Regions from separate parts of the Homo sapiens genome. Here all the other regions are linked to region 1. Evidence: promoter capture Hi-C in human tissues and cell types (Jung and others, 2019). All regions are on one chromosome and are shown on one strand. The core of a region is centred on a gene start or on the middle of the fragment in contact, and the rest is flanking DNA. Distances in the headings are between cores, read along the strand shown. Region 1 holds the start of CAPZA3 (capping actin protein of muscle Z-line subunit alpha 3). Region 2 overlaps PLCZ1 (phospholipase C zeta 1). Region 3 overlaps LOC102724227 (a long non-coding RNA gene). Region 4 has its middle 61 kb from the start of PLCZ1.

Evidence for each region. The method cuts DNA at HindIII sites, captures the fragments that hold promoters and counts their contacts. A contact is called where the count stands out against the background at its distance.
Region 2: a contact is called between a fragment that was not itself captured here and the fragment with the promoter of CAPZA3 in region 1, in 2 of the 25 tissues and cell types used here (dorsolateral prefrontal cortex and thymus).
Region 3: a fragment that was not itself captured here is called in contact with the fragment with the promoter of CAPZA3 in region 1 in 4 of the 25 tissues and cell types used here (dorsolateral prefrontal cortex, mesenchymal stem cells, small bowel and 1 more).
Region 4: a fragment that was not itself captured here is called in contact with the fragment with the promoter of CAPZA3 in region 1 in 1 of the 25 tissues and cell types used here (thymus).

The regions. Positions count from the first base shown.
Region 1 is chr12:18,736,552-18,739,390 of GRCh38, reverse strand. It overlaps CAPZA3 (capping actin protein of muscle Z-line subunit alpha 3), which reads right to left and starts at 1,272. Exons shown (of 1, transcript NM_033328.3): 1 at 203-1,272. The coding sequence starts at 1,122. The coding sequence ends at 223. It overlaps PLCZ1 (phospholipase C zeta 1), which reads left to right and starts at 1,379. Exons shown (of 15, transcript NM_033123.4): 1 at 1,379-1,459; 2 at 1,882-2,030. The coding sequence starts at 2,020. The HindIII fragment of the contact is 1,043 bases long and covers 817-1,859 here.
Region 2 is chr12:18,700,432-18,703,131 of GRCh38, reverse strand. PLCZ1 (phospholipase C zeta 1) reads left to right here. Exons shown (of 15, transcript NM_033123.4): 8 at 1,356-1,440; 9 at 1,564-1,631. It also overlaps a transcript of PIK3C2G not described here. Among named protein-coding and RNA genes, the nearest start is that of PLCZ1, 36 kb to the left of the region's middle. The HindIII fragment of the contact is 5,239 bases long and covers 1-2,700 here.
Region 3 is chr12:18,790,995-18,793,694 of GRCh38, reverse strand. The region is part of intron 2 of LOC102724227 (a long non-coding RNA gene); the gene reads right to left. Among named protein-coding and RNA genes, the nearest start is that of CAPZA3, 54 kb to the right of the region's middle. The HindIII fragment of the contact is 3,452 bases long and covers 1-2,700 here.
Region 4 is chr12:18,675,352-18,678,051 of GRCh38, reverse strand. It overlaps a transcript of PIK3C2G not described here and a transcript of PLCZ1 not described here. Among named protein-coding and RNA genes, the nearest start is that of PLCZ1, 61 kb to the left of the region's middle. The HindIII fragment of the contact is 4,006 bases long and covers 1-2,700 here.

The sequences.
Region 1 (2,839 bases), core at 23-2,522:
TCTTGGTCTTTATGATGGTCACCACCATGAAACACAGTTACTTTACACTTTCTTGCCTTGTTCATAAATATTCCCCAAGTAAAATTACTTGCTACACTTTTCCCATTTAAATTTGCATTGGCTAAGTGAGAGACATCTCTACAGATTGCTCAATTTTAGGAAAATAACCATTCCCAAGAAACACAAACAAGTCAAATCAAGATAGTTACCAGGAGCAATTCTTTATATTATCCAGTTGCACAACACACTTCTTGAATAAATGACATATCCTAATTTAGGATACATCACCAGATTCAAGTCAGAGAGTATCCTGTGCCAGTCAATAAGAGTGCGGGTCACTGGAAGATCCCTTCGTAGAATTTTTCTCAGGGCTTCATTGGATAACTCCTGTAATTCTTCCAAGACTGCAGCTTGAAATTTGTTCTCTTGCTCTTCCACAAGCCTTGCAAAACTTAGAGCCAGTTGAGCTTGGTTAACTATTTCCAAGCTTTCTTTCAGGTCCTTGGATATTTCAATATGAAGGTTGACACACCTGAAGAAGTGAGCTTGCACAAATATTCTTCCCGTTACTTGGGTTAGAAATGGGTTAACTTGGAAAATCCATTTAGATTTCCAAAGTCCGTTCCAGCACTCTCCTGTTTCATAGTTGTGATCTTCAATGCAAGCTATCAAGTACTCCTTACTTTTGACAGTTTTTCTCAGCATGTTGCAATTTCCTTTTGGATAGTGGTCATTCACATACAGTTTTAAGGCGCACAGAAGAACAACTCTCAGGTATTCTGCCTCATTCTGAATGATACCATGACTTTGGATGTCTTTCAGCTGATTTTGAAGCAGGTCATATTTGAAAGAAAGTTTGCTTTGATGGTCAAAAAATCGGTAGTCGCCCATTACATTGTGGTGAGACAAGAGTACTGGATTTCCATCGATGCAGAGTGGTACAGAATATTTTTGGCAGTGTTGGTGGCCTGCACACTCACCTTGGTGGTGCATAAGTTTTTCATCACGGATAAGCAGACAGAGATCATCAAAGGCATTTACAAATTCCCCTGGAGGGGCCTGTAATAACAGTCTGCGAATTACTCTTTCCTTGTCCTTCCTGCTCAGCACGCTAAGTGTCATGTTTGGTTGCAACAGAAGCAAAGCTTCTGAAATGAGGAGTGTTCAAAGGATAAGAAAACATTCCATGAGCCACCTTTCCCATCAAGGTGTTAACATTCAAGCTGAAGGTTTTTATGTCTATCCATGAAAGCAGGCAGTCTGGCAAGGTCTGAGCCTCCTGATGAGGTCATAAGAAGCTTTCCTTGTGAAGTGTGGAACCTCTGATGATATCACAATGGGAATTCAGACCAAAAGGAAAAAATGACAGTCACCTGACAGTGTGGTGCCCAGCCAACCAGCTATACCTCTTTTGAAGATTTTAAGAACTTAGCCTCCTGAACAGTCTTCTTCGAAAGTGGTGTGTCTCTGTGTGCATTATATGTTGTCAACGATCTAGAGAAGCAGCCCAAAGTTTCAAGAGTGACAGCACTTTGCAACTTCAGGAATCACAATGGTGTTGATTTATACTCAGGCTCTCAGAGTAGCTGCCCAAACCCACTGGAAGCATATTATGATGAAAGGTTTGAGGGGTTTAAACAAAGTAGTAAAAAATAAAAGGAGATACAATGGCAGTTCATGGAAAAATGCCAGACATCAGGGAAAGCTGTGTTTTCAAATATTGTGGGTTTGGAGGTGGTCAGAACGTAAGAAGCCAAACAGTTTCAAGGGCAGGGTAGTGCAGGTACCACATCTTGCATACTGTTTCTATGGTTAAGTGTGAGCTAGCTTCAAAGAACGAAGGCAAAAAAAACCACTGTGTGTTCTCTGCTTTCTCCCTAGAAAAGTGGTAACAGCTGATGAGTATCAAGAAATTATTTTCTGCAAAGGGGCAGAGTTAATTGTATTTGGAACCCATGACAGCACCTACTGGGGAAAGACTTCTAAGTGAGGAGAAACGGCTCTACAGGTCATGAAACTATGGAAATGAGATATCCATTGAGAGCTTCTTTCTGCTCCTCTTCTTCTTTCTCCTACTTATCCTCTTTACTTGATGCTGTTATTCTTTTCGAGGAGTTCTGAATTTAAGTCCTCTTCATTTAAGTTGAACTGCTTTTCCCTGTTTGTTCTGAGCTTTTCTAACTTTCCCTGCATTCTGGTATCTTTTTCTTACAAGAACATGAGCTTTGCTGGATTAAGTCATAACTATTAAATTTAAGGAGATCTCATTAATTCGTTCTAACAATCTGAAACTTAGTAGTTTTGCACAATTTTTACCTATACCTTTTATAATTTTAGTGATAATTGTCATTATCTCATTTCGATCTTAGTTTTTCAAATGGAAGTGTCCTAGTTTTTGTAGTTTATCTATGATAAGTAAGCTTTTAAAAATTTTTTTCGTTTTTCATACCAAATATACACTCACCATGGTATTTCTGATGCTTTTTGATGGTACTGTCTTGAGTGTGTGTGTAGCTGGGCATTGGACTAATGTAGTAATAATAACTTTATCAGTCATGGTTACTATTTATTGAACACTAAGTAGCAGAAACTGTGTTCGGTGGCATATTAGGAATTCATCTAATGCTTCCACTTTCCTTAAGATTCAGGGTTAATTTGCTCACCTTTCTGGAAGAGAGAACTAAAACAGAGAGGTCAGGTGAGAGGCGATCTTGAAGTCTAGCTGCCTTCCAACTTCATGCCTTCAGGCAATAGATTGTTATAATGTTTTAATGTATGTTCTAAGTAATGACTTCAATTCTCAAATTTTAACTTTAATTCTTTTTTTTGTATTTTTACT
Region 2 (2,700 bases), core at 60-2,559, 36 kb after region 1:
CCAATTCTGGAACTTATAATTTTCAGCTTTCTTGGAAGAGAATCCCGCTTCCTATTATATATGAATCTATTTTTCTAGCATTCCCGTACATAGCTTTCATTCAAATTTTAGCTCCATATTAAAGCAGGGAGGTGCTTTTCAATGAGTAAATAAAGAATTAAAGTTACCCTGTAATCCCAGCTACTTGGGAGGCTGAGGCAGGAGAATCTCTTGAACCCAGGAGGCGGAGGTTGCAGTGAGCTGAGATCATGTCACTGCACTCCATCCTGGGTGACAGAGTGAGACTCCGTCTCAAAAAAAAAAAAAAAAAAAAGTTACTTTATCCTACAATATTCAGTCCTTGTGTGTAAAAGAATTGCCTAGAGACTTGTTAAAGGAGGCCCAATTCCAGCCCCACAATTCAAGATTCTGATTCCCTTATTTTGAAGTAGATCCTAGGAATTTGTCCCTTTCCCAAGCACTTCTGATAATATTCTTGATACATGGGATTGCAGAGTGCATTTGGTAAACTCTGCAGTGGAGAGTATCATAAGGGTCATTGTGAAAGAGGGAAGACCCAAGATGATGGAATAATTTGAATGGATGCCTGAGGATGACAAAAGAGAAAGGACAATCAAAGCTCCCTGGAGAAAAGAACTTTACTTTATAACCCAGATTTCAGCATTGTATATAACAGAGCCGGTACTTAAATGTACTTGTTAAATTAAAGAAATTATCCTAAGGGCAGGAATAACCAAGTGAAAGAATGGAACCAGAAGCCTTCAAATTTAGAACAAGTGACACTGATGGTAAATTTTGCTATGCTTCTAAGTTTGAAGGACAGAAAATATTAAGTTAATGATGTTTATGTGTAATACAGAAGAAATTTGAAGAGCCTTTATTACGAATCTTTAATTTAGTCTATACTAGATGCCAGACACTTATGATAGACATTTTAATATACCTGATTTCATTTAATACTTTTTAATGTTGGATAAGAAAATGATGAGCTGAAGCGTTTACTACCAGAAGTTGTAACATTTTCATTGCAATATCATGGTAAGTATTTATATATATATACTTTTCACATATTTCAAATTGTTGGAATAGTACCAACTTGGGAAATATAAAAAAAATGGCATATGGTAAGTCTCAATCATAACAGGCTTATTTTTTGGTGAATTACAATCAATAGCATTATATCACTGTATTCATTCCTCTACTGAGATGTGAATAGGGGTATGGGAAAAAATGGAGTTCTTACATATCTTATTACTGTAGGCTAATTGGAAATATAGTGAAACACTTTTCAGTGACTGTTACAATGCAAATTTACTTGTAAATGTGTAATTGTATCTCTCAAATTGTTTCCTTAGGCACTAAAATTCAAAATATTAGTTAAAAATAAGAAAATAGGAACCTTAAAGGAAACCCATGAAAGAAAAGGTTCTGATAAGCGTGGTAAGGTGGAGGAATGGGAAGAAGAAGTGGCAGATGGAGAGGAGGAGGAGGAGGAGGAGGAGGAGGAGGAGGAGGAGGAGGAGGATAAATTCAAAGAATCAGAAGTATTGGAATCTGTTTTAGGAGACAATCAAGACAAGGAAACAGGGGTAAAAAAGTTACCTGGAGTAATGCTTTTCAAGAAAAAGAAGGTGAGGTGGTGTTTTGTGAAAATCTTACAAGTGATTGGAAAGTTTTCTAATTTTATTCTTGGAGATTTTTTTAAAATTCTGGAGAAAAATCATTTTCCTTCTTATAAAAACTCTAGTCTATCATTTACAATTTACTTTGAAAACATCGATGGTGGAAGATGAATTTTTTAAATTGCCTCTTTTCTTATGTTAGCTGCTTAAACATTTTTTTCTCTAGGCTGAGCACGGTGGCTCATGCCTGTAATCCCAGCACTTTGGGAGGCTGAGGTGGGCGGATCACATGAAGTCAGGAGTTTGAGATCAGCCTGGTCAACATGGTGAAACCCCGTCTCTACTAAAAATACAAAAATTAGCCGGGCATGGTGACGCATGCCTGTAGTTCCAACTACTTGTGACGCTGAAGCAGGAGAATTGCTTGAACCTGGGACGCGGATGTTGCAGTGAGCCGAGATCGAGCCATTGCACTCCAACCTGGGCAACAGAATGAGAGATCCTGTTTCAAAAAAAAAAAAAAAATCTCTATAATTGATAAATATTATGCATTCTTATGAAACAGGCTTTGTGCGAAGTGCAAAAGATGCAGAGATACACAACGTAATTTCCCTGGTCCCAAGTAAAGACAAAGACAAGATTCAATATTAATAATACATAATGTTATATGTATATACATTAGCATGATGAAAGAAAGTATATTAGGTTGCATGTGACACAAAACCAATCCAGCTGGTTTAAATAAAATGATAATTAATTAATTGGCCTACATAGATGAAAAGTTCAGTGAAAGGGATTTTAGTTTAAAAAATGACTTGATATAGTGTCTCACATAAAGTCAGCAGAACTTCAATTCTTTCTCCAGCTTTGCTCCCACTTTCTCTGTGTTGGTGCATGGCTATTGCAAGGAGTCAGCTTTATATCATTTCAGCTTCAAATCCAGTGGAATGCCTATCTCTTGGCAGAGCAACTATTTTTTTTTTTTTTTTTTTTTTTTGTACGTTGGCTCTGATCTGGTTATGCGCACATCCCAGAACCAATTACTGTTGCTAGGGGAATGCAAAGCTCTGTTTAGCTG
Region 3 (2,700 bases), core at 104-2,603, 54 kb before region 1:
ATATATATTTATATATGTATAGTAACAAGTTATCTATCTATCTATCTATCTATATATATATAGTAACAAGTTATCAATGCTACTTGGTTCTTCAGTTTGAATCAATGGTATAGTGAGAATACCAATGCACAGGATTGGATTGGAAAGTCAGCCCCACATGAATCAGAGATCTTACCTTATATTACCCAAATGAAGTTAAGGAACAGGCACTCAGTCGGTTCAGATGCAGTGAGAAGTATTTTCCATGTTGGCTATGTTCCTCTGGCTCAGGATAGGCTGGTTTGCATTTGAGGTTATGGGAGTATCTCCCACAGTGGGAGATAGTCCAAGGGAATTGAATAGCCCACGAGGCATTCTCCAAGGGATCATGCCCCATAGATCCTGGATTCTATTTACTATAGGTAATCTGTAGCCAGAGACTTCCTGTTAAAGGCAATTCAGAAATAAGCTATCCTCTTCCTAATAAATTTCTGTAGTATATTTACCCAGTGGTACAGTTGACAAGGAGGAGGTCACCTGCCTTCTGCCAGGGAGTGGCTTATGAGAACATAGTACCCCCACCCCATGAAGAGAGTGAATGAATTGAAGGCCATCTGCTTTGACCTTTTCCTACCAGTTAATTAGTGTTTCTGGTGATCAATTTTTACTTATTTTTGTCTCCCCTTTCCCAAGCAAGCTTGTTTTTGCTCTTTGTTGTATCATTTCTTTTTTCCAACTTTATTTGGCCTAATTGTTTCTTTCCCAAATCTTAGGGTGGTGTCAGTTAGTACATATATTCAGAAAAGTACATTTGTTTTTAGATATTACTTTGGCAATACCTTATGAATTTTCATATGTTTTACTTATATTTTTACTGTTCAAATATTCTGATATCTTATTTCTTCCTTAAATAAGATTTTGAAGTGCTATTTTTAATTTTTAAATTATTAGATAACTTTTATTTTGTCTAATATTGCAATGAATGCTGTGAATGTAGCATATCAAGTTCTGCTTTTTGATATCTTCTAAGCAAATGCTTGAGTTTCAAAGTATCATGAATTTATGGTATCTGTAAACATTTATCAAGCACCTAAAATGAAGTATCACTGGAATGGAAGAAGTATCTCTGAATCCTCTTTCCTCTCATTTCTTAAAGATTTTGTGATCATATTTTCTTATGCTGGCATCATTATATTATCCTCTCTACTAAAGTATTCTAACTGGCATACCCCAGTATCTCTCATATATTAAATGGGATGGGAAAATTTGGGGACACTCAGTATGTTTCCTAATCCCCCAAACCTGTGGATCTGTTACCTTACATGGCAAAAGGGTCTTTAAAGATGTGACTTAGTTGAAGATCTTAAGATGAAGAGATTATCCTGGATTATTCTGGTGAGCCCAACACAATCACAAGGGTCCTTCTAAGAGGAAGGCAGGAGGTTCAGAGTCAGAGAAGAAACTGTGATTAAGGAAGCAGAAGCTTTGGAGTGAAGAGAGGCCATGAACCAAGGGATGCAGGTGGCTTCATATGTTGATTTTGCATCCTCCAACTTTACTGAATTTGATCAGTTCCAATAGTTTTTTTATGGAATGTTTAGCTTTTTCCAAGTATAAGATCATATCATCTGAAAACAGGGATAATTTGACTTCTCCTTTTTCAAACTGGATGCCCTTTATTTATTTCTCTTGTCTTATTGCTCTAGCTAGGAATTCCACTACTATGTTAAATAACAGTGGTGAAAGTGGGCATCCTTGTCATGTTCCCAATATTAGAGGAAAGGATTTCAGTTTTTCCCATTTAATATGATACTAGCTATGAGACTGTGTATATGCCTTTTATTATGTTGAGGTATGTTTCTTCTACACCCAGTGTTTTGAGGGTTTTCATCATAAAGGGATGTTGAATTTTATCAAATGCTTTTTCAGCATCAACTAAAATGATCATATGGATTTTGTCTTTTATTCTATTGATATGATGTATTGCATTAATTGATTTGCACATGTTGAACCATCCTTGAATCCCTGCAATAAATTCCACTTGATCATGATGAATGGTCTTTTAAGTGTTTTCTTGAATTCGGTTTGCTAGTATTTTGTCAAGGATTTTTGCATCAATACTTATCAGTGATATTGGCCTGTGGTTTTCTTTTTTTGATATGTCATTGTCTGGTTTTGATATCAGGGTAATACTGGCCTCACAGAATGAGTTTGAAAGTACTCACTCCTCCTCATTTTTTGGAACAGTGTGAGTAGCATTGGTATAAGTTCTTCTTAAAATGTTTGGTAGAATTCAGCAGTGAAGCCACTGGGTTTCTTGCTTTTCTTTTTTTTTATTATTTTATTTTATTATTATTATACTTTAAGTTTCAGGGTACATGTGCACAATGTGCAGGTTAGTTACATATGTATACATGTGCCATTCTGGTGTGCTGCACCCATTAACTCGTCATTTACCATTAAGTATATCTCCTAATGCTATCCCTCCCCGCTTCCCCGACCCCACAACAGTCCCCAGAGTGTGATGTTCCCCTTCCTGTGTCCATGTGTTCTCATTGTTCAATTCCCACCTATGAGTGAGAACATGCGGTGTTTGGTTTTTTGTTCTTGCGATAGTTTACTGAGAATGATGATTTCCAATTTCATCCATGTCCCTACAAAGGACATGTACTCATCATTTTTTATGGCTGCATAGTATTCCATGGTGTATATGTTCCACAT
Region 4 (2,700 bases), core at 181-2,680, 61 kb after region 1:
CACATATCCACAATGTCATTCATTTAACCAATGAGAGTTATATTTCTCATATTCTTTATGCTAATTGACATACTCTCTTGATTGAAATACATTTATGTGCATCCACACACACAAACACACCACATACACAAGCACACATGAATATGGATACACATGCTCACACATAAATATCAGGTGTTTTATGACAAATTATTAAAGTACAATTTTAAAACCAAAATGGAAGGATAGATTTGTGCTTATATTTTTTAGATCTATCTACATGTTTAGAAAACACAAATAATTATTTTTGTTTTAAATGTAGACCAGTTGTTCTTAACCTTATCTGAACACTGGAATCATATAGAACATTTTAAAAATACTGATGTCTTTTCTCCCTTTTAAGAGATTCTGATGAAATTGGTGTGGCGTTCTGCTTCAGCTTTGTGATTTTTGAAAATTCTTTAGGTTATTCTAAAGCAGTGCTCTTAAAGCACTGCATTAGGTCCTCAGCCAGTGAAAACAGCATAGGGGACATTTTAAGAGACGAAAATTCACAGGCTTCACCCTAGACCTCCTGAACTGGAAACTCAGAAGGTCTGGCCAAGCAGTCTGCCTTCTAACCAGCCCTCTATGTGATTCAGATGCATGCTCAGATTTGAGAACCACTGTTCTAATCAGTGGTCAGGACTGAAAACAACTAGCCTTGCCTCTATTCATTACCGGTTTGATTGCACGGTGCTGATTCAGCCTATGTCGTGTGCCTGGCTTAGCTTTCTAGAAACTGTCTTGCTCGCCATCTTTCCTCAATTCATATGCTGGTTTAGATTTTGCTCTCTGGATTTAAAGTGCTCACATATTTGTGCATCATATTGTGGCAAGCAGCCTGACCAGGATCTGCTGTTGGAATATGACAGTATCTTGTGTTCAGCCAAAGCCCTGATACAGACTCCCCTTTTCTACATCAAACTTTCTGGAGAGACAGAGCTTTCTTCCCTGGTACCTTTTATTTTCCTTTTGGGAAAGAATCACTCTCATTCATCTTTATATTGTTCATGGTGATTTATGACAAATATCTGTTCAGTAAGCAACAAAGTTGTTTGAACCAGATGTTCTGGGAAATAAGAAAAACAGTTTTGCTTTTACAGTCTTTGGGAATCTGAAGTTTTAAAAAATGAGGAATGCATAGATCTTCCTGTTATTATTATTTTACATGGCTGTGATCAATCTTATATGTGTGTTTCCATTTCAGACCTCTTCCTAGCATAATCTTTCCCTTCTGACCTTCTAGTTTTTCTAACACCTATTACCTTTTAGGACTTTGCTGAAGAAAGAAAGGTAAGACAACAGGAATAGTTAAGTGGGCAGGCAAGTTAGTAATAATTCATTACATTTATAGTAATGCTTATACTATAGTCCTGCTTATTGTTCTACTTTCATCTTGCTAGACTGATTATTCTTTGTAGTCTACAACAGAGTCAGACAGTAAGAAATACACTCCCTTCTTAGACACCTAACTATAAAATGAACATAACTACCATGTATGTAAGTGATAACAGGAGAGAACAGAGTCCTCAGGTGGTTGAGAGTACTCAATGGGATACTAGCAAGGCAAATGCAGGCATTTTCACTGAAGAAGCAAGGGGTCAATGTACTGAGACTGATGCTCAGTTTGCTAAAGGGACATCTGCAAAAAAGCTGACTATGGGACATGGATTATATTAGATTCTTTCAGTTACAAAGTACACTGAACCTGGCTTGGTGGTTTAAGCAAATATAGACATTTATTAGCTCATATTGCTAAAGAGAACAGGTAAATCTGGTCTCAAAAGAGGCTTGACCTAAAGGTCAAACAACATGATTAGGACCTGGTTTCTTTCTCTTGTTTTTTCAGTTCCATGTATTCAGTTTTGGGTCCATTTTCTAGCTGTCTCTTGCCTCACAGTCCCAAGATGGCAATGTCTAAGGACACCCATGCAAAGCAGGAAGAATGAGAAAGACACAGGTCTATTGACTCGTGTTGATGGTATAATTTTTTTTCCTTTCTTTCAAAAAGTTTTTTTTTAAATAGATTCAGAAGGTATATGTTCAGGCTTGTTACCTGGCTATATAATTGTGATGTTTGAGTTTCTAATGTGCTTGTCATTTTAATAGTTAACATTGTACCCAAAAAGTAAAATCTCAAACCTCACCCCCCTCCCACCCTTCCCTTTTTGAGTCCCTAGTGTCTATTATTTACCTATCTGTTCATTTGTACTTATTGTTAGCTCCCTCTTATAAGTGAGAACATGTGGTATTTGATACTTCTGAGTTATTTCACTTAAAATAATGGACTCCAGCTCCATCCATGTTGCTGCAAAAGATATAATTTTATTCTTTTTCCTGGCTATGTAGTATTCCATGGTATAGATATATATATCACATTTTATTTACCCAATCAACCATTGATGAGCACTTACTTGGTTCTATGACTTTGCTATTGTGAATAGTGCAGTGACAAACATACAGGTGCAGGTATGTTTTTGATATAATCATTTCTTTTCCTTTGGGTGGATACCTAGTGGTGGAATTGCAGAGTTGAATGGTTGTTCTGCTTTTAGTTCTGTGAGAAATACCCATACTTTTTTCCACAGAGGTTGTACTAATTTACATTCCCACCAGCAGTGTATCAATATTCTCTTTTATCTGCATCCATGTGAAGATCTGTTGGTATAGTCTCAATGT